Linked DNA regions of Homo sapiens: region 1 is linked to region 2. Evidence: promoter capture Hi-C in human tissues and cell types (Jung and others, 2019). All regions are on one chromosome and are shown on one strand. Each heading gives the region's core, a stretch centred on a gene start or on the middle of the fragment in contact. The rest is flanking DNA. Distances are from core to core; before and after follow the strand shown. Region 1 overlaps ZNF677 (zinc finger protein 677). Region 2 holds the start of ERVV-1 (endogenous retrovirus group V member 1, envelope).

What was found. Contacts are between HindIII fragments. The study calls those that stand out against the background at their distance.
Region 1: a contact is called between a fragment that was not itself captured here and the fragment with the promoter of ERVV-1 in region 2, in 3 of the 25 tissues and cell types used here (dorsolateral prefrontal cortex, heart right ventricle and mesenchymal stem cells).

Annotation. Positions count from the first base shown.
Region 1 is chr19:53,234,024-53,241,700 of GRCh38, forward strand. ZNF677 (zinc finger protein 677) reads right to left here. Exons shown (of 5, transcript NM_182609.4): 5 at 1,358-4,534. The coding sequence ends at 2,949. Among named protein-coding and RNA genes, the nearest start is that of ZNF677, 17 kb to the right of the region's middle. The HindIII fragment of the contact is 4,510 bases long and covers 3,221-7,677 here.
Region 2 is chr19:53,010,491-53,017,672 of GRCh38, forward strand. ERVV-1 (endogenous retrovirus group V member 1, envelope) reads left to right here and starts at 3,431. Exons shown (of 1, transcript NM_152473.3): 1 at 3,431-5,633. The coding sequence starts at 3,601. The coding sequence ends at 5,034. All of the region lies in intron 1 of LOC124904758 (a long non-coding RNA gene), which reads right to left. The HindIII fragment of the contact is 3,820 bases long and covers 620-4,439 here.

The DNA of each region.
Region 1 (7,677 bases), core at 4,226-6,725, 230 kb after region 2:
GCCACTGCACTCCAGACTAGGCACCAGAGTTAGACTCTGTCTCAAAAAAAAAAAAAAAAAAAGTTATGAGGTACTAACAAATGTTAATTTTGGGTGGGTGGTATTTTTTATAGTGACAGTTTGCCCAGGCTAGTCTCGAATTCCTGGGCTTAAGCGATCCGCCCATCTTGGCCTTCCAAAGTGTTAGAATTACAGACATGAGCCACTGTGCCTGGCCTAGAAATTGATTTTTTTTTTGGACAGGGCCTTGCTCTGTCACCTAGGCTGGAGTGCAGTGGCATAATCCTAGTTCACTGTAACCTCCAACTCCTGAGCTCAAGGAATTCTCCTGCTTCAGCCTCCTGAGTAGCTGGCACTATAGAAATGTGCCACCATGCCCAACTAACTTCTAAATTTGCAGACAGGGTCTTGACATATTGCCTATGCTAGTCTCAAACTCCTGGGCTCAGGCAATCTCCTCGCCTGGGCCTCTCAAAGTGCTGACATTACAGATGTCAGCCTCCCTGCCCAGCCGGCTAGCTGAAAATTTAAACCACAGATGAGTATTCACTCCAGCCCCACCAGATAAACATCATAACACCCCAAGTCAATCATCTTTCACTGCCTTCTCTAGCCATTTTTTAACCAGCTTGGGAAGTCTACCCTGTTCTCTCCAGAAAGCCTTTTGTAATAAACATTCTTATAATACTTTGATGTAGAGTACCACCAATCCTGAAATCTAAACCAAACTTTGCACGGGGTTCCCTCCTGTTCCAGTGGAGTGGCGACAAGTGCAAATCAGTAAAAAAAAATGTTTTGGGGGTAAATACATGAGGTTTCTAGTTTCTTTAAAAAAAAAATCCATTGCTTATGTTCATTATTAAGGGGAAACTCATGAACACTGATTTTTTTCAAATTATTTCACGGAGTGCTCCAAGTACAAAAAAAGAAGTTGTGTTATTATTTCAGAAATTTCATTTACTAATAATTTTCATATGCTTACATTTGTTATTTTCCTCTCATGTAAAAGGCATGCAGAAATAAAGTTATGTAGAAAAAAAGGCATGTAGAAATATAACTGCACAGTGCATATTCATGAACAGGAAGACAGGTTTCAGGGGGTCTGATATTGTCCCACTATGGCATGGCATTTTCATTATAGCCATAGAAGTCATCTAGGGCAGAGTGTGGAGAAAATATTTCAAGTGCAAATTATGAATATATACTTCTTAAATTGTATACTGTTTGAACATAACATGGATAGAAATTGTTATAGATGACATTCAACCTTGAGAGTCTAATGATGTATTATAGTGTTTGATATTAAGTGTCCCAATGAGGTGGGATATGCTTGGGTTGACGGAAGGCACACGATTCATTCAGGGTTACTAAAAATGATTATATTTTACTAATTAAGACATAAGAAGTATAATATATTCTAAATAAAATGGTATCAAATGCAATCTCAGGGGCCAAATGTGAATCCCCTATAAGAACACTACTCTGGTTCTTTTGATGGAACTGTCCTCTATGGTAACCATTCTCTCTTCAGTTTCCAAAAATAAGACCTATCTATGTTCAATAATCTGTGATATGCAACAGTAACTACCTTTCAAGAGAGGGTGACTATCATTCCCCCTCCATTTCTTTCTACCACATATGCAGTCTCTAGTAACCGACCATTTCACTTCCATGAAAATCTCTCAATGTCCCACCCTACTCTTCTTGTTTCATGGTCATCTTGTACTGTAACCAATCTCTCCTATAATCGACAAAGGTCCCCAGTCACATCAACAATTCTAAGGGGTCCTGACCACATAAAGCATATATGTTAGACAATAGTTTTACCTCTCTTCTGGCACAAACCCCCATGCTCTTATAGTATATTGTATATTAGTGTTCTTGGCTGGGCACGGTGGCTCATGCCTGTAATCCCAGCACTTTGGGAGGCCAAGGCAGGTGGATCACCTGAGGTCAGGAGTTCAAGATCAGCCTGGCCAACATGGCGAAACTCTGTCTCTACTAAAAATACAAAAACAAAAAAACAAAAAACTAGCCAGGCATGATGGCGCATGCCTGTAATCCCAGCTACTCGTGAGGCTGAGGCAGGAGAATTGCTTGAACCCGGGAGACAGAGGTTGCAGTGAGCTGAGATGGTGCCACTGCACTCCAGCCTGGGTGACAGAGCAAGACTCTGTCTCCAAAAAAAGAAAAAATTAGTGTTCTTGCTTTTTCCAGGTTTCAGTAATATAAAGAAGCCACACCTAAGGAAGTAGTCCCTTCCATCTTACATCCATTCCTTGAGACAATCATGATAAATGAAAAGCATGCCATGAAGATTTAACAGCAACAGATTTCATACTTTTAAAAATATGAAATAACTGAATAAAAAATTTTTAACACTGAAGTTACATCTTTCCACAGATGTCCTTGCTCCTCTGACACACACCATGAGTTTGTGACTTTTTAAAATTGTCTGTGAATTTAACATCAATCACTTAATCTTCAAGAAGGAAAAAAGACTTAGTTCCCTCTAGCCTGAATTTTTGTATGACAAAATGCTTGCATATAAGGATGAATTTCCATTGAGAAATTTAAAATAATTTACCACCTTCACTTGTAATGCTTCTCTCCAATATGAATGGTGTATCCTGAAGTCAGAACATTGCTTAAAGGACTTGCCACATTTGTATGGTTTCCATCCTGAATGTCTTCTGTTATAACCATAATAGGGTAAATATTTTTATAAAGCTGTTCACATTCATTATATTTGTAAGGCTTCTCTACAGTAAGAATTCTATGATGTTCCACAAGGCTTGAACTTTGGATAAGCCTTGCCATACATGTTATCTTTGTGTGGTTTATCTCAAAGATGTATATTCTGGTATCAAGTGAGACATAAGCCATAGCTAAAGGCTTTACCACATTTTCGTTTTATATGGTTTCTTTTCACAATGGAGCCCCTGATGCTAGGTACAGCTTGAATACTTAATTTTTGTCTCATTATATTTGATATGTTTTTCTCTATTATAACTTTTTTGATGATCTCCAAGGTTTGAACTTTGGAATAAAGCATTACCATGTATATTATGTTTACAATGTTTCTTTTCAATGTGTATTTTCTGGTGTCTAGTGAGGTTTGCAAATTGGGTAAAAGCTTTGCCACATTCAGTACATTTGTAAGGTTTCTCTCCAGTATGGATTTTCTTATGCTGAGTAAGATTTGAACGTTCAGTAAAGGCTTTGCCACATTCAGTACATTTGTAAGGTTTCTCTCCAGTATGAGTTCTCTGATGACCCCAAAGGTGTGAACGTTTGATAAAAGCTTTATCACATTTATTACATTTGTAAGGTTTTTCTCCAGTGTGAATTCTCTGATGTTCCACAAGACTTGAACTTTGGATAAAAGCCCTGCCACACACATTACATTTGTGTGGTTTCTCTCCAGGATGTATATTCTGATGCCTAGTGAGATGTGAGCACTGCTTAAAAGCTTTGCCACACTCATTACATATGTAAGGCTTCTCTCCAGTATGGATTCTCTTATGTTGGGTAAGGCTTGAACGTTCAGCAAAGGCTTTGTCACATTCATTACATTTGTAAGGTTTCTCTCCAGTATGAATTCTTTCATGACCCCAAAGGTGTGAACGCTGGATAAATGCCTTACCACATTCATTACATTTGTAAGGTTTCTCTCCAGTATGCATCCTCTGATGACTTGCAAGATTTGAATTTTGACTACAGACCTTGCCACATATATTACATTGATATGGTTTCTCTCCTGTATGGACTCTCTGATGCCTAGTGAGGTTCGAACACTGGTTAAAGGCTTTGCCACACTCGTTACATTTGTAAGGTCTCTGTCCAGAGTGAATTCTCTGATGATTAGTGAGGTTCGAACTTTTGCTAAAAGCCTTTCCACAGTCATTACACTTGTATGATTTTTCTCTAATGTGTGTTCTCCCATACTGTGTATGTAATAAAGGGTATTTCAAAATCTTCCTATATTTATTACAAATGTTTTTGACACAAGGAGGAAGTGGTGAAACTGAGGAACTATTGATAGACTTCTCAACTGGATTACATTCATACATTTTCTCCCCAGTTTGAAATCTCTGTAGTTCAGCCAGCTGTGCCTGTAAGCTTAATCCAATTTTATTTTCAAAACACTTCACGTATTTGTTTCCGGCATACCTTATGTTATTTTTCAGTTTTAACAAATTCCTTATAAATGGCTTGTCATGGATGAAATACTGGTGTGCACTATCTCTTATAGAAACACTCTGCTTTAAAGAGAAATGTATTGAGGATTTATTATGTTGTTGATCTTTTCTGTGAGTGAGATTTTTGTTACAGGTCAAAGGCATTCCTTTGTAATTTTTTACATCATAGTCCCACAGGCTGTCAAACTTAGGCATATTTTCCCAGACTTCCTTGAGGTCAAAATTGTTGATGCCATGGCTTTCCTTTCTTTCTAATATCACCAGATGGTATAATTCCTCTTTATTATTTTCCTTTGGTGATAATCCCTTGCTTGTAAATCCAACAGAAATATCTGAAAGATATTAAAAAAACCACAGGCTTTCCATCAAATAGAGTTGCAAGGTAAATATTTTATTAAAATACATATTACAAGAAAGCTAAGATTTACAATGAACAGAGTTATGAAGCTTCTCAACTGTCTTTAAACGTTTAACAACACAAAGGGACTAGCTGTCCTCAATAAAGTAACACAGTAACAAAACATGTAACAAATTATTTTAAGCACAGTTTAAAACACCCTATAGCTAAAACACTCATACTATGTAAATCCACATAAACTCTGAAAGAAGAGGTATTTTTCCACCACCACTCCAAGGAACACGTAAATTGGCATAGCTATATGGTAGTCTCATATTTGAAGATAAACAAATAGTAATGCATTATTTAGTACATAATTATTACACACAAAAGGTAAGGCACAGCTCAAGCTTATCTAATAAAAAATATTTAAAAATGACAATTCATAATTGCAAACAAAACACTGAAAGAAAAAATTCGGAAGAATTTAATAAAATTTTGAATATTTACAAATTGCAAATGTGAGTACTTGTTATAAAACTACTTACACCCATGTAGAATGTGCATTTTGCAGCATTAACAATTTGTGCATGGTGGTTCTATTGCATAATATATACTGAAAAACCATCATCTGTAAATCATTACAAAAATAAATAAAACACTTTAGTAACCTGTGAAAATCTAACAGGCAAGTTAATGAACAACCACAATTACACAAAATTGTCAGTGAAATTCTAAAGAATTACTGCTTATGAACTACAGAAAAAACAGAAGGGACACACAATAGGAAAAATAATATGTTGAGAATCACTAAATTTTGAAATATCAGCTTCAGGTAAATGCACATTACTATAAAGATGAAGAATTAGGAGGGGAGTCTGAAATAATTTCATGCCTGCAGTTATATGACAGCAGTATATAGAGAAACTCCCTGACTAGGAAATGTCATCTAGTTTTCCAGTTCTATGGCCAAAAAATACATATAATGAAAGCTGTGTGCTTTAACATTTTATTATGTAGAGTCAGAGAAATGTTGATATGAAAAAAAAAATTACAAAAAAGAAAATATGTAAGATATAATGAAGGCAAAGGTCAATCTCATAAGAAACATGACAGACACTTGACATATCTTATTCATAAAGGTAACTTTTCAAAGCATACTAAATGCTATGCAAGTTACTAAGGTCTCTAACAGCACTAATTGATGTAAATCCTCTTGAGGTAAATTATCGCACCTTTTCATACCAAAACAAAGGGCTGAAGAGGTTTACATATCTATCCCTAACTCACAGAGAAAGCACATCTGAAAGCCAGAATCTGAACCTGTGTGTGCGGGCTAAGATGCCATGTTCACAGCATTAAGCACCACTGGCCACCCAGGGCAGCACGGATTATAAATCACAGCAAATACGAGGAGTGTAGGAAGAAATGTTTCAAGGCAGATTATGGGACCTGAGCTGTGTCACCTATAGTGTGACAGCACCACTGCTCTCAGATAGCATTTAAGTCACCTTATCTTGCACAAGTTGTTTAGACAGTGACCAGATCATGTTGCTGTCCTGAGTAAGCTGTCCTGTGTATAAGCAGGAGTCATTCTTTACACAGTGTGTGCAATGAAGGGATGTTATTCTGTGCTAAAAAGAAATGAGCTGTCAAGCTATAAAAAGACATGGAAGAAATTTATTTTATTTATCTATTTTTTGAGATGGAGTCTCGCTCTGTTGCCCAGGCTGGAGTGCAGTGGCATGGTCTCGGCTCATCACAACCTCTGCCTCCCAGGTTCACGCCATTCTCCTGCCTCAGCCTCCTGAGTAGCTGGAACTACAGGTGCCCGCCACCACGCCCGGCTTATTTTCTGTATTTTTAGTAGAGACGGGGTTTCACCATGTTAGCCAGGATCGTCTTGATCTCCTGACCTCGTGATCCGCCGGCCTCGGCCTCCCAAAGTGCTGGGATTACAGGCGTGAGCCACCACGCCCAGCCCTAGAAATTGAAATGCATATTATTAAGTGAAAGAAGCCAATCTGAAAAGGCCATATACTATATGGTTCCAACTATATGACATTCTGAAAAAGGCAAATCTATGGAGACAGTAAAGAGATCAGTGGTTGCCAGGTGCTGGGGGGAGGGAGAGATGAACAGACAGAGCACAGATTTTTTAGGGCAGTGTAATTATTCTGTAAGATACTATTATGGAGGATATATGTCTATTATATATTTGCCCAAACCCAAAGCATATACATAGAGTGAACCCCAACATCGACTATGGACTTTGGGTGATAATGATGTGTCAATGTAGGTTTATCAATTTTAACAAATGTACCACTGTGATGGGGGATGGTGATAATGGGGGAAGACGCTGTGCACGTGTGGGGGAACAGAGTATACAGGAAATCTAGTTTGCTGTGAACATAAAATTGCTAAAAAATAGAAAGTCTATTTTTAAAAAGTATAAGCTAAGAGTTGATATAAAGTTACAGGAAACAGAAGTAAAAGGAATAACTAATACTATCCTTTAACAAAGTTTTGGAGGTTATATATGTTTTGAGGAAACTAATACTCAGACATAAATACTCAAGGAAGAAATCTTCTGGTAAAACATATAAAACATCATGAAAGTATATGAAGCAGAAAAAAATATATATAATAAAACAATATTCATTCATCTCATGGCCCCACACACTGTAGATATAAAACAAAAAACACTAAGAGTATCATGAAAACATGTAACTGCTGATTAAATACATACAAGTTCATTTATACCAATGACATTGGCAAAATGAAAGTGTCAGTGGCTTAACCAAATTATACTGAACTTTAAAAATGTATGCCTAATTCAACTTTGTAAGCTCCCTCAATAAAGGCATAAAAATCATACTGAAGAAAAATGTACAACTGCACGTATGGGATGAATAATGTGGTATGAGCAACAGTTTGGTCAACATGTTCGCAGATATGAGGTTGAGAACTTGGAGAATGCTCTTCCCAGGAGAAACTCCTACACCTTGTACTGCTGGCTCCAAGAGGATGATCAGCATATATCTAACCAGCGTTGTCACACTGCCCTTGGGAGACACTGGAAACTCCACAGAAACCAGAAGGTCAGAAGCACTTATCCCTCCGGCTGTCCTGATTCTC
Region 2 (7,182 bases), core at 2,181-4,680:
TCCTCAAATTCGCTTCCTCAGTGTTTTATAACCGAGACCAGGATGAGAGGGACAGGGCCGAGAGGAAGGAAAAACAGAAAGAAGAGAGGCAGGCTCAATTACTAGCTGCTTTGCAAGTTCACCAGCCCCCTCCAGGTTGCCCTAAGGATACCTTCCCAGGGAACTGCTATCAGTGCGGGAAGCCGGGCCATTGGAAGGCAAACTGCCCCTACGGGCCAAGGGGGGAAAAGCCCTGCACGGCCTGTCCCCTCTGCCGTAAGCTCAGGTACTGGAAAGAGAACTGTCCCGAGAGCCAAAAGGGCCCCTGAGCCAATGATGGCTTTGAGCTGAGGGTGCCCTCTGCCTTGGCCAGCTCCCAGATGTGACATCATCATCAAAGGGATGGAGCCCAGGGCAACTCTGGATGTAGCAGGTAGGACAATACATTTTCTATTTGATTTGAGAGCAGCCTGCTCGGTGCTGACCCCCTTCTCTAGGCAACTTTCCTCTGTCAGGTAATCAGGGTAAATGGCATCTCTTCCTAAGATTTACACCTTCTTTATTGTTAAAAGACCAATTAATCTTTTCCCATGAGTTCCTGATACTGTCTGAATGTCCCATACGTCTTTAGGGCAGGGATATACTCTCCAAACTAGGGGCACGCTTCACATTTACCTGAACTTCCCTGAAAGGCTTTCTTTTTTTTTGGAAGACTCACCCATGACATTGCTGAATTATCTTGATCTGGAATCACAAATAACCCTGAGATATGGGCTTTGATACACTAGGAAGGGCAATAACTGCAGTCCCAGTCAAAATCCAGCTAAGAAAACCTTCCACTTCTTTCATAAGAAACAATACTCGCTATGGCCAGAGGCAACAGAAGGACTTGAGCCTATCATTAACCCATTCCTTAGACATGGCCTGTTAAAGTCTGTAACTCTCCCTGCAACACAGGAAATCTATTCTGCTGGTAGAAAACATTTAAAGGGTTCTCCACTACTGAACCCTGATTAAGTCTGGTTTTCTGATGGCGGCAGTTTCATCCAACATGGAGTGACACATGCAGTTATGCAATAGTGTCTCTATTTGACATTATAGAAGCCAAATCCCTTCCTCCAAGAACATTGGCACAGCTAGCAGAGCTCATTTCCTTAACTAGAGCCATAGAAATAGGGAAAAACCCAAAAGCTACAATTTATACAGATTCAAAATATGCCCTCTCAGGACTCCATGCTCATGTGGCCATCTGGAAGGAACAGGGATTTTTACCAGCAAAAGATACCCCTAAGGAATGTGGACCACAGATCCTGGCCCTGCTCTAAGCTGTACACCTATCACAGGAAATAGCTGTAGTCCATGGCCAGGGACACCAAAGGACCAGGGAGAAAATGCCCAGCAAAACAGGAGGGTGGATCAAACAGCCAGGACCACTACCCTGTAGGGAACTCCTCATGGCCCTTAACCCATCTTTACCCAACACCTTACCCACCCACAAAAACCCAAGAGGAAAAGGAATGGGCTATCAAATATGAATCTACCCGAGAACCTGAGGTGTGGTATACAGTGGGAGGAATTCTCCACTTTCCTAGGCCCTCCAGTAAAAACTTGTGAGAGCACTCCATGAGTCATGTCACTTTGGGAGACATCATCTCCAGCACATGTGCAAAAACCTCTTTTCCAGGAAAGGGCTCTACTAGACTATTTGTCAGGTCTTTAACACCTGTGCATCCTGTGCCTGTAATAGCCCCCAGGGCCCTACGCTGCCCTGCTTTTTTTTTTTTTTTTTTTTTTTTTTGAGTCAAAGTTTCACTCTTAGTACCCAGGCTGGAGTGCAACGGCGTGATCTCAGCTCATCGCAATCTCTCCCTCCCAAGTTCAAGCGATTCTCCTGCCTCAGCCTCCTGAGTAGCTGGGATTACAGGCAGGTGCCACCAAAAAAAGACCAAAAAAAATTTTTTTTTTTTTTTGGTATTTTTAGTAGAGATGGGGTTTCTCCATGCTGGTCAGACTGGTCTTGAACTCCCAACCTCAGGTAATCCGCCTGCCTCGGCCTCCCAAAGTGCTGGGATTACAGGCATGAGCCACCGTGCCCAGCCAAATTTTTTTTTTTGTTCAATGTTGCCCAGGTTGGCCTCAAACGCGTAGCCTTGCCTCCTTGTGACCCAGGACAACCGGCCAGAGCCAATGCAGCTCCCTGTCCTGCTTAGTTGAGCCAGTTCAGCATTGGGAAGCTTACCCAGGGAAAGACTGATGGATGTATTTCACTCAATTGCCAGCCTGTAGAGGCTATAAATGCCTTCTGGTGTTTGTGGACACCTTTATTGGGTGGGTTAAAGCCTTTCCTACAAGAACAGAAAAGGCCCAGGAAGTAGCCAAGGTACTTCTTAAAAAAAAAAAAAAAATCATCCCGGCCGGGCGTGGTGGCTCACTTCTGTAATCTCAGCACTTTGGGAGGCCGAGGCAGGCGGATCACGAGGTCAGAGAATTGAGACCATCCTGGCTAACACAGTGAAATCCTGTCTCTACTAAAAAAGAGAAAAAATTAGGTGGGTGTGGTAGCGGGCGCCTATAGTCCCAGCTACTCAGGAGGCTGAGGCAGAAGAATGGTGTGAACCCGGGAGGTGGAGCTTGTGGTGAGCTGAGATTGTGCCACTGCACTCCAGCCTGGACAACAGAGCGAGACTCCGTCTCAAAAACAAAAAGAAAAAAAAAATCACCCCTCAGTGTGGGTTTAGTTTGTGTTTACAAAGTGACAACGGCCCAGTTTTTATTTCACGCACCCTTTAATTAGTGACAAAAGCCCTAGAAATAAAGTACTCCTAGCACTCCTGGAGAACACATTCCTCTGGCAAGGTAGAAAGCACTAATCAAACTATTAAAAGGACCCTGAACAAAGTGTGCCAGGAAACCTCCTCACCATGGTTAGAACTCCTGTCCGTAGCACTGTTCTGAGCATGACCCCTAATATTACTTATGCCTTCCTACATGCAGACCTAATGTTAGATCCAGAAGTTACCCAATTAATCAAATACATAACATCACTGGCCCAATTTCAACAAGCCATCCAGGAGTTTGAGCAAAAGGTACTGCCTGCCACTGACCCCTCCAGTAATCAACCCTTATACTAGCCAGGGTCACAAGTCCTCATCAAAACCTGGAGAGATGGGTCACCCAGGTCTCAACTAGCCTGGGTCTCTCCTTTATGGAAAGGCCCCTTTATTACTTTCTACCCCGACAGCTATCAAAGTTTCTGGAATCTCTAGTTGGATACATCACTCCTGAGTAAAACTGTGAGAAGGTCCCGAAGAACCAACAACAGAATCAGCATCTGAGTAGTCTCATGAGCCAGCCACTGGAGAGCTTCCAATTCCTCTTCAAGTGAAAAGATAAGTAAAGCCTTCTCTCCTTTCACCTCAAAAAAAGGTCTCTCAGTACGGGGAATCTTGGTTGCGGTGGCATCGGTTCTTCTCCTTATTTTGACCCACACTGGCATGCCACCTGAAGTCCCGATAACAGCCTGATTTCTCACTAAACACTCCATCGAACCATTTCATTATTTGTCTCTCCTATTTTCAGCACTTTCCTTTTGCTTTCACAAAGCTTAAGGGAGAATCAGCTATGACAGAGAAATTCCTTTTCCTTTATCTTTCCCTCCTTCCCATGCCCCTACTCTCACAGGCACAGTGGAATGAAAATTCCCTTGTCAGTTTTTCCAAAATAATTGCTTCGGGAAACCATCTAAGCAACTGTTGGATCTGCCACAACTTCATCACCAGGTCCTCATCTTACCAATATATTTTGGTAAGAAATTTTTCTTTAAACCTAACATTTGGTTCAGGAATCCCTGAAGGCCAACATAAATCTGTTCCGCTCCAGGTTTCGCTTGCTAACTCAGCGCACCAAGTCCCCTGCCTGGATCTCACTCCACCTTTCAATCAAAGCTCTAAAACTTCTTTCTATTTCTACAACTGCTCTTCTCTAAACCAAACCTGTTGTCCATGCCCTGAAGGACACTGTGACAGGAAGAACACCTCTGAGGAGGGATTCCCCAGTCCCACCATCCATCCCATGAGCTTCTCCCCAGCAGGCTGCCACCCTAACTTGACTCACTGGTGTCCAGCTAAACAAATGAACGATTATCGAGACAAGTCACCCCAAAACCGCTGTGCAGCTTGGGAAGGAAAAGAGCTAATCACATGGAGGGTTCTATATTTGCTTCCCAAGGCACACACTGTCCCCACATGGCCAAAATCTACTGTTCCCCTGGGAGGGCCTCTATCCCCTGCATGCAATCAAACTATTCCAGCAGGGTGGAAATCGCAGTTACACAAGTGGTTCGACAGCCACATCCCCCGGTGGGCCTGTACCCCTCCTGGCTATGTATTTTTATGTGGGCCACAAAAAAATAAACTGCCCTTTGATGGAAGTCCTAAGATAACTTATTCAACCCCCCCTGTGGCAAACCTCTACACTTGCATTAATAACATCCAACATACGGGAGAATGTGCTGTGGGACTTTTGGGACCACGGGGGATAGGTGTGACCATTTATAACACCACCCAACCCAGACAGAAAAGAGCTCTGGGTCTAATACTGGCAGGGATGGGTGCGGCCATAGGAATGATCGCCCCATGGGGAGGGTTCACTTATCATGATGTCACCCTCAGAAATCTCTCCAGACAAATAGACAACATAGCTAAGAGTACCAGAGATAGCATCTCTAAACTCAAGGCCTCCATAGATTCTCTAGCAAATGTAGTCATGAACAACAGATTGGCCTTAGATTACCTCTTAGCAGAGCAGGGTGGAGTCTGTGCAGTGATCAGTAAATCCTGTTGCATTTATGTCAATAACAGTGGGGCGATAGAGGAGGATATAAAAAAGATCTATGATGAGGTTACGTGGCTCCATAACTTTGGAAAAGGTGATTCAGCAGGGTCCATTTGGGAGGCTGTGAAGTCTGCCCTCCCCTCCCTCACATGGTTTGTCCCTTTACTGGGACCAGCTGCACTTAATAGCCTGCTTTCTCCTCTTTGGCCCTTGTCTCTATAATTCACTAATTAAATATGTCTCTTCCAGGATATGGCAATTTCACACAGAGCCCCTAAAAATGGAAAGAGATCATCCAATCTTCCTTGGAGGTCCCAGCACCTACAAGTACATATCTCCCTTGGATGCCAGTGGGCAAAGATTCTGCAACTACGGAGGGGCTCCTTCCCTGACAGAGAGCAAGAGAGGGAGACCCTGATGACTTCTTCGTCCCACGTCAGCAGGAAGTAGTTACAGAAGACCCACGACGTCCTTATGCCCAAAGCTTTTCAGGGTCTCCAACTCTTGAGGGGGAATACTGTTAGGGTAGGCAGGTAGCCAGACAAGAGCAGGCAAGGAAGCCCCTGGGAAAGGAATCTTTAGAAATGCAGCCCGCTGATGGCCTCCTTGGAAACGCTGCACGCTGAGTCAGCAAAAGGAGGAGCGTGGCTACACTGGCTACACCTGGCCTTGTGGCTGCATTCCTCTGTTCCAGAAGGGAACTTATCAAGGCCCAGCCAGAGGTTACCAAGGTAGGAGCTATTCCCCACTAAGAAGCATGTATACTTCTCTAATAATTCACCCTAATATACCATTTTGTTCATTAAAATAATAAAAAAAACCACACACCTGTGTGGAGATTTTATTTTTTAACCAGAAATTCCTTGTTAGACTTTAGATCCAAATGACATGGCACATGTGTGCCCAGACCAGTTCCCAACACATGCTTACTAGTAACGCCCCTGCATGACCCCTTCATGAATAATCATGTAAAATTCTCATAAGAAGCATCTCCCCAGCCAGGTGTGGTGGCTCACGCCTGTAATCCCAACACTTTGGGAGGCTGAGGCAGGCAGATCACCTGAGGTCGGGAGCGCGAGACCAGCCTGACCAACATGGAGAAACCCCGTCTCTACTAAAAATACAAAATTAGCTGGGCGTGGTGGCGCATGCCTGTAATCCCAGCTACTTGGGAGGCTGAGGCAGGAGAATCGCTTGAACCCGGGAGGCAGAGGTTGTGTTGAGCCAAGATCGTGCCATTCCACTCCAGCCTGGGCAACGAGAGGGGAACTCCATCTCAAAAAACGAACAAACAAAAAGAAGCGTCTCCCCAGCATTGGTGAGACAGACTCATTCATTTGAGCAGCCCAGCCTGTTCTGTCTTTCAGGGTGTACTGTTTATTTAAAAGCCCCCATAAAAATTCCTCCCAGGCCAGGCATGGTGGCTCAGGCCTGTAATCCCTGCACTTCCTTGGGCGGATCCTCAGACAGATCACAGCTCAGGAGTTTGAGACCAGCCTGACAAACATGGCGAAACCCCGTCTCTACTAAAAATACAAAAAAATTAGCCGGGCCTGGTGGCACGCACCTGTAATCCCAGCTACTCAGGAGGCTGAGGGAGGAGAATCACTTGAAACCAGGAGGCGGAGGTTGCAGTGAGCCAAGATTGCGCCACTGCACTCCAGCCTGGGCTACAGGAGACTCCATCTGGGGAGGGCGGCGGGGAATTCCTCCTAAGTCACTAGCAGCTGACTCACTCTCTGCAGCAGCCAGTTCTGTCTCTTCTTGACCTCCTGTCTTTAAATAAAGGTTACTTAACGATTTAACTCTTTCTGTGTGCCTCCTAGATGAATTCTTTCCTTCAGGAAGATAAACTGAAGGACCTCCACACCCCTCCTGGTAACAAAGGTCTTTGTGCAATCCCTCCTGAAGAAGCAATGGAGGATTTAGTATATCTAAACTAGTAAATACAAACTGTACTCAATTATCCAAGAAATCATTGAAGAAACACTCTTTACTCCATTTTTTATATCTTGGGAAAAATATAATTAAAGACAAAATAATATTTGCCAAACCCAGAAATCCTCACCAAAAAGGAAAAAAATAAATAAACAATCCCAGTTGGTGGCTGGTGAATGCTTCTACCTTAATCAATACATGTTTTGAAGCTGTCAGCTTCTTTTTGCTCATAAGTGACTCCACAGAATCTAGTCTTTGCTTTGCCCTCTAGACAAGGAATACAGAATTTTTAAATCTTATCAGAAACATATAAATTGTTTGGTTTTGCACAATATTTACTAATTTTCTCCACTCATCCACTGTGGAGTCATAGCACAAAATGAGGCACCACCCTCTCGTATTGCAACTAAAACAGACTGAGCTTCTGCTCCA